Linked DNA regions of Homo sapiens: region 1 is linked to region 2. The links are contacts of gene promoters, found by promoter capture Hi-C in human tissues and cell types (Jung and others, 2019). All regions are on one chromosome and are shown on one strand. Each heading gives the region's core, a stretch centred on a gene start or on the middle of the fragment in contact. The rest is flanking DNA. Distances are from core to core; before and after follow the strand shown. Region 1 overlaps PIP5K1B (phosphatidylinositol-4-phosphate 5-kinase type 1 beta). Region 2 holds the start of PRKACG (protein kinase cAMP-activated catalytic subunit gamma).

Region 1 (3,218 bases), core at 404-2,903, 62 kb before region 2:
GGGAAGTCCACTAACATAAACCTGCTGCTGAGGACTCATTCACTTCACAGCACCAAGCTGGCCCAGCCTCCCCACAGACAGACCAAACGCCTCTACCACAACCTGCCTTTGCATTTAGTTCATGATAGTTATGGGTGCAGGAGAATTAGGTAAGTGTAAGGAGGGAACTAGGAGACAATGTTAAACTCTCCATTCAGAATAATATTAATCTAAAATGGAATCATTTAATAACCTGTTTTCAAGGATAAAGTAATAAAGGTGACATGTGTAATGAAGTAATGGAGCTCATTATTTTTCCAGCCAGCCCTATTAAAAATTAGTGTGTGGAAGGTCACAAATAACTTAAAAATGACCAGATTTGTTTTCAAAATGAAGGATTTGGCTATAATGCAAATTTCATCCTGAAGGCTACATGGGGAAAAAAATAATGGTAGAGTTTCTCTGTCTTTTCTTTCATTGCTTCTCATCACACTGGAAGAATGGTTCAGACTAAGCACTTTGTCTGGGAGAAGATTTTTTGTCTTTTATTTATGTATGAGTGCATTTCAGTTGGTGTCCTCCTAATTCCAACCACCCTCACCTGCTGCTTTCTGTGTGGTCACTGAGTTGTGACAGGAGAGAGGCCAGGTATTCGAAGGCCAGGTCAAAGCTCATTTAGGGAACCGGTCGAGCCTTCGCCTTTTCCCTGTTCACCCTCCTGCCTTTCCAACCTAAGTGGTAAAACTCATCCTGAAAGAATCACGGAGCTTTGGAGATGAGAGGGAACTTTGGCCATCATGTCATCCAGCCCTTTTATTTATTAAAAAAGGTATTGATTGATTTTAAAATTTATAAATTATTTTTGTAACAAAACTCTATGCCCAGAGTTTAACAAATAGTCGTGTAACATGTGTTAAGAAAAAGAGCAAGCCGTAGTCCACCTCCCCCTACGTCTTCATGTGCAATCACCTTCAACTCTTTGAGCTGATTCCTTTGGCAATTACTTTGGTTTTTCTAAATAACATGCTTATATTGTTATTGCTTGATCTATTGGGTGTAGGCATTAGCTAATAACTGCCCACTATAGAAGACGAAGATTTAGCTGTCTTTTCTCCACCCGACACATACCACGTATGTGTACTGTTCCCACCCCCTCCTCCTACACCCTTCCAGTTTCCCTGTATAGTTACATCTTGACTGTAGTCCGATCGATATTGAGTGTTTTATTATGGCTTTGTGAATAGTGTCATATACTATGTTTCAGTTTCCTTTCCTGTGTGACTTTTTGTTTTTATTGTAATAAATGACTGCCTTGTTCTTCGGTTTGCTTAGTTTTCTGTGTATTTTTCCTTAATAGAACCCTAAGCTTTCCACCAGTGTCTTCATTTCTTCTCAAACCATTTAAGTGCATGAGGTTCTGTTCCTTTTATTGTCTTGCAGAAGTTTCCGCCAGACACTTCTGACCAGCCTGGACTGAACTGGTTGCCCTCTAGGACCTGATGTACAAATGTTACTTTGGGGCCTCTCTGCTCCATCATTCTGGGGATTCTAGTAACCTCTTGTCTGTATCAGTTCCGTTGTTTGTCATCTCCTACATCTTCCTCTTTGCTTCTTCCTCTTTCTTGGTTTACTCCCTCATTTTGGTGGAACACATTTTCCAGAAGAAAATCCTCCAGTATGAAAAATATTCATTGCAGGCAAAATATTTGAGATCTTGCATGTCTTAAGTCTTTATTCTAACCCTAACACTTGATTGATAGATTAACTAGTATAGAATTCTAGATTGCAAATATTTTGGATTTTTTTTTTCAACATGGTGAAGGCTTGGCTCCATTGTCTTCTAGTTTCCAATTACCATTGAGAAATCCAGTGCTGTTCTGATTTCTGATCTTCTGTAAATGGCTTGCTTTCTTTGCCTGCCTGTCTGCCTGTCTGCCTGCCTGCCTGCCTGCCTTCCTTCCTTCCTTCCTTTCTTCCTTCCTTTCTTTCTTTCTTCCTATTATTATTATTATTATTGCAGAAACCTGTAAACTCTTTGATTTTCTCTCAGAGTCTCAGTATTTCATGATGCTAGGCCTTGGTGCAGGTCTATTTTCAGCCAGCATGCTAAGCACTCAGGGGACCTTTTCAACCTGCAAACTCATGTTTTGAGTTTGGGGAAATTTTCTAAACTATTTTCTTATTTCCTCCTCTCTATTTTCTTTTTCCTTTTTGTAATTCCTTTTATGCATACAGAATATCCTGGATTTGTCTTCCAATTTTCTCTACTTTTCTGTCTTCAGTCCCATCTATTTATGTTTCTGTCCTAGTTTCTGAGAGATTTCCTCAACTTCATCTCCTAATCCTTCCACTGAGTTTTTAATTTCCATTACCATGTTTTATAAGAATTCTTTTTTTGTTCGCTGAGATTTTATTTTTTAGCAATCTTTCCTTTTTTCATGATTGTAATTTCTCTTTTTTCCTGAAGATATTAGGATTATGTTTTTTGTTTTGCCCTGAATTTTGTTTCTTCTCCCTTTTTAGTCTCGGTTTTCATCCAGGCTGCCTTTTTCTCTTTGTAGTCTACATGTTCTATACTGGAGGTTTTCCTCAGATTTTTGGAAATCTTCATTTGTCTGCTCAACTAAGGCTTGAGTGGGAGACTAGAAAACTGATTAGAGGCCAGGTGTGGTGGTTCACACCTATAATCCCAGCATATTTGGAGGCCGAGGTAGGAGGACTGTTGGAGCCCAGGAGTTCGAGACCAGCCTGGGCAATACTAGTGAGACCCCATCCCTACAAAAAAAATTAAAATTAGCCAAGTGCAGTGACACACCTGTAGTCCCAGCTACTCAGAGGCTCAGATGGCTTGAGCCTGGGTGGTTGAGGCTGCAGTGAGCTGTTATTGCACCATTGTACTCCAGCCTGGGCAACAGAGCAAGACTCTGTCTTAAAAAAAAAAAAAAAAAAAAAAAAATCCCTGACTGGAAACTTAAGCACTTGAGCAGAGCTTGTTGACCAGCAAGCTATTGAGCTGGTCAGACTCCCTATAGGAGATGCTTCCAGTTTCTTGCTTGGAGGAGAAAGGCCTGGCTGTCAGCCTTCTGGGACATCTGGCAGGAACAGGTGTCTTAGCATCTAGTATATACATATTTACTTCCTCTCTTTCTTTTACCTCAATTGCTTCTGGTGTCCCTGGGTCCACACATCCTGTTCTGTGTTTTCCGCAGGGAGAAAAAAAATAAAATCCTCCAGTCTTC
Region 2 (3,153 bases), core at 421-2,920:
CACGGTAAGGTGGGAAGGGTGGGAGGGGTGGAAGTAGAGGAAGGAGGAAAGGGGACACTGGTGGAACTTAAATAAGATTTTAATTGTTTTTTGTTTTAATTTTTTATTCTAGCAAACAGCCCACTGAACATGGCACTAAACCTCTCTCCTTCCCAGGCAGGATTACGCCAAAGGGTAGGTGTGCTTTTCATTCATCCTCTCTTAGTAAGTGGTGCCTGTTCAGGGCTGGAGTTAAGTTTGAGCCCCTCTTTCCACACCGTGTCCCTTGATACAACAGCAAGACCTGGCCTGAATAGAGCTGAGAAACTCGTTTAAAACAGGCAGAAGGGGGCTGGGGCAAGGGGGACCCTGTGGGAGGAGAAAGAGAGAAGCACAGAGGGACCAGGAAGGCATGGGGGGGGGTGAGGGAGCAGCTGGTGTTTCTGTTCCTCCAAATATCTGGGCTTCCTGCTCCCCCAACCCTGGAGGGTGGGGTGAGGATGAAATTAGATACAAGGAACTCTGGGGCCCTCTGGCTGTTCAATCCAACCCTCCCATCCCCCAAACCACCAAAAACAAAAAGGAAAGAAAACCCACAGGGGCACAAGCACACCCCTAAAACTCAGAAAACTCCTTGGCACACTTCTCATTGATGGAGATCCGGAGCTCTTCCTCCTCGTAGTCGTCAAAGTTACTGGCATCCCCAGGGCCTGTGTACTTCGGGATGAAGGGAGCTTCCACCTTCTTCTCATAGATGGCGATCCAGCTGGTTGTGGCGAACCACTTGTGGTTCTTGATGTCGCCAACCCCGTTCCTGAGGTTTCCGAAGCGCTTGGTGAGGTCCACCTGCAGCAGGCTCCGCAGCAGATGCTTGAGGTCAGAGCTGAGTTTGGAGGGAAACCGCACCCTCCCAGAGACGATCTTCTCGTAGATCTGGATGGGCTGGTCGGCGTAGAAGGGTGGGAAGCCCACGGCCATCTCATAGATGAGCACCCCTAGGGCCCACCAGTCCACGGCCTTGTTGTAGCCTTTGCTCAGGATGATCTCGGGGGCCAGGTACTCTGGGGTCCCGCACAAGGTCCAAGTGCGGCCCTTCACGCGCTTGGCGAAACCGAAGTCCGTCACCTGCAGGTAGCCCTGCTGGTCGATGAGGAGATTCTCGGGCTTCAGGTCGCGGTGGATGAGGTCGAGCGAGTGTAGGTACTGGACGGCCAGGACGACCTGGGCGGCATAGAAACAGGCATGGGGCTCGCTAAACCTTCCGACGCGCTGTAGGCGGGAGAACATCTCCCCACCCGGCACGTACTCCATCACCAGGTACAGGTAGGAGTTGTCCTTAAAGGAGAACTGGAGCTTGACGAGGAACGGAAAGTCGATCGCCTGCAGGATGCGCTTCTCGTTCAGTATGTGCTCGACCTGCTTCATCTTCACCACCTTCTGCTTGTTGAGGATCTTCATGGCGTAGTGGCCGCCGGTCTCCTGGTGCCTCACCAGCATCACCCGCCCGAAGGAGCCCATGCCCAGCGTCCTGAGCCGTTCGAACTGATCCGAGCTGGCGGTGTTTTGAGCGGGGTTTCCCCATCTGTAGAGGAAATCTCCTCTGGCTTTGGCTAGGAACTCGTTCACGCTCTCCTCCTGCTCGGTGTCCTTCTTGGCGGGGGCGTTGCCCATGGCGGTGGCGGCGGCAGGGGCGGGGGTCTCGCGGCGGCGGCGGCGGCGGCGGCAGCGGCGGAGATGGCGCCCCCTGGGGCTGGCTGCGCTGGCTGCGGCGCTGCGACCCCCGCCCGGCCTCCGCTTATATTCCCAGCTACATGGGAGGCTGAGATGGGAGGATTTCTTGAGCCTGGGAGGTCAAGGCTTCAGTGAGCCAAGATCACGCCGCTGCACTCAACAATATGGATAAATCCAAAAGGCATTATGCAAGTGAGAGAAGCCAACTCTAAAGGAGACTTACTGTATGAATCCATTTCTATGACATTCCAGAAAAGGCAAAACTATAGTGTGAGAGAACAGATCAGTGATTGCCAGGGCTTGGGGTTAGGGGACGGTTGGACTATGAAGGGACAGCCTGAGGGAATGTGGGAAGTGGTGGGACATGTTTGTATCCTGATTGTGCTGGTGGTTACAATGTATTGGGTGGTGGTCTACATTTGTTTTAAAACTCATAGAACTGGCCGGGCGCAGTGGCTAAAGCCTGTAATCCCAACACTTTGGGAGGCCGAGGCGGGCGGATCACAAGGTCAGGAGTTCGAAACCAGCCTGACCACCATAGTGAAACCCCGTCTCTACTAAAAATACAAAAAAATTAGCCAGGCGTGGTGGCGCATGCCTGTAATCCCAGCTACTCGGGAGGCTGAGGCAGGAGAATTGCTTGAACCTGGGAGGCAGAGGTTGCAGTGAGCAGAGATCGTGCCACTGCACACCAGCCTGGGCAATAAGAGTGAAACTCCATCTCAAAAACAAACAAACAAACAAACAAACACCTCAAAGAACTGTATACTTCCCCCCAAAATTCAGTTTTACTGCATGTAATGTTTTATTTTAACACATACATATGATTTCCTTTCTTCTGTTTGCTTTGGGTTTAATTGCTCTTATTTCCTAAGGTGGGAACTAAGGTCACTGATTTGAAATCTTTCTTCTATTACAATCACTTAGTGCTATAAATTTCCTCCTAAGTATTATTTTTTGCAGCATCCCACAAATTTTGGTATGTTGTATTTTCCTTTTCATCCAGCTCAAAATATTTTCTAAGCTCCCTTTTCATCTTCTTTGACAGATAAGCTATTTAAAAGTATATTATTTCGTTTCCAAATACTTGGGGATTTTTCAAGAATTTTCCTATTGATTTCTGATTTAATTCCATTGTTAGAAAACATACTCTGTGTGACCTAAAATGTTTTACACTTCTTGGGGCTCATTTTATGGCCCAGAATATGATCTATCTTGGTAGATGGCCCATATGCACTTGAGAAGAATGTATATTCTGGTGTATTCTGCTGTTTGAGGATACAGTGTTCTACAAATGTCACTTAGGTCAAGTTGGCTAGTAGTAGTGTTCAGGTCTTCTATATTCTTATTGACTTTCTGTTTACTTATTCTATCAATTATTAAAAACATGCCACAGGAGTTTATGAGAAGTCAAAGTACATAGATGATGGGCCTTCCATCACT

The links. Contacts are between HindIII fragments. The study calls those that stand out against the background at their distance.
Region 1: a contact is called between a fragment that was not itself captured here and the fragment with the promoter of PRKACG in region 2, in 1 of the 25 tissues and cell types used here (hippocampus).

The regions. Positions count from the first base shown.
Region 1 is chr9:68,950,896-68,954,113 of GRCh38, forward strand. The region is part of intron 14 of PIP5K1B (phosphatidylinositol-4-phosphate 5-kinase type 1 beta); the gene reads left to right. LOC101927069 (a long non-coding RNA gene) reads right to left here. Exons shown (of 3, transcript NR_110647.1): 3 at 2,193-3,218. Among named protein-coding and RNA genes, the nearest start is that of PRKACG, 62 kb to the right of the region's middle. RefSeq lists an enhancer at 1-187. The HindIII fragment of the contact is 9,571 bases long and covers 1-3,218 here.
Region 2 is chr9:69,012,443-69,015,595 of GRCh38, forward strand. It overlaps PRKACG (protein kinase cAMP-activated catalytic subunit gamma), which reads right to left and starts at 1,671. Exons shown (of 1, transcript NM_002732.4): 1 at 62-1,671. The coding sequence starts at 1,650. The coding sequence ends at 595. The HindIII fragment of the contact is 11,337 bases long and covers 1-3,153 here.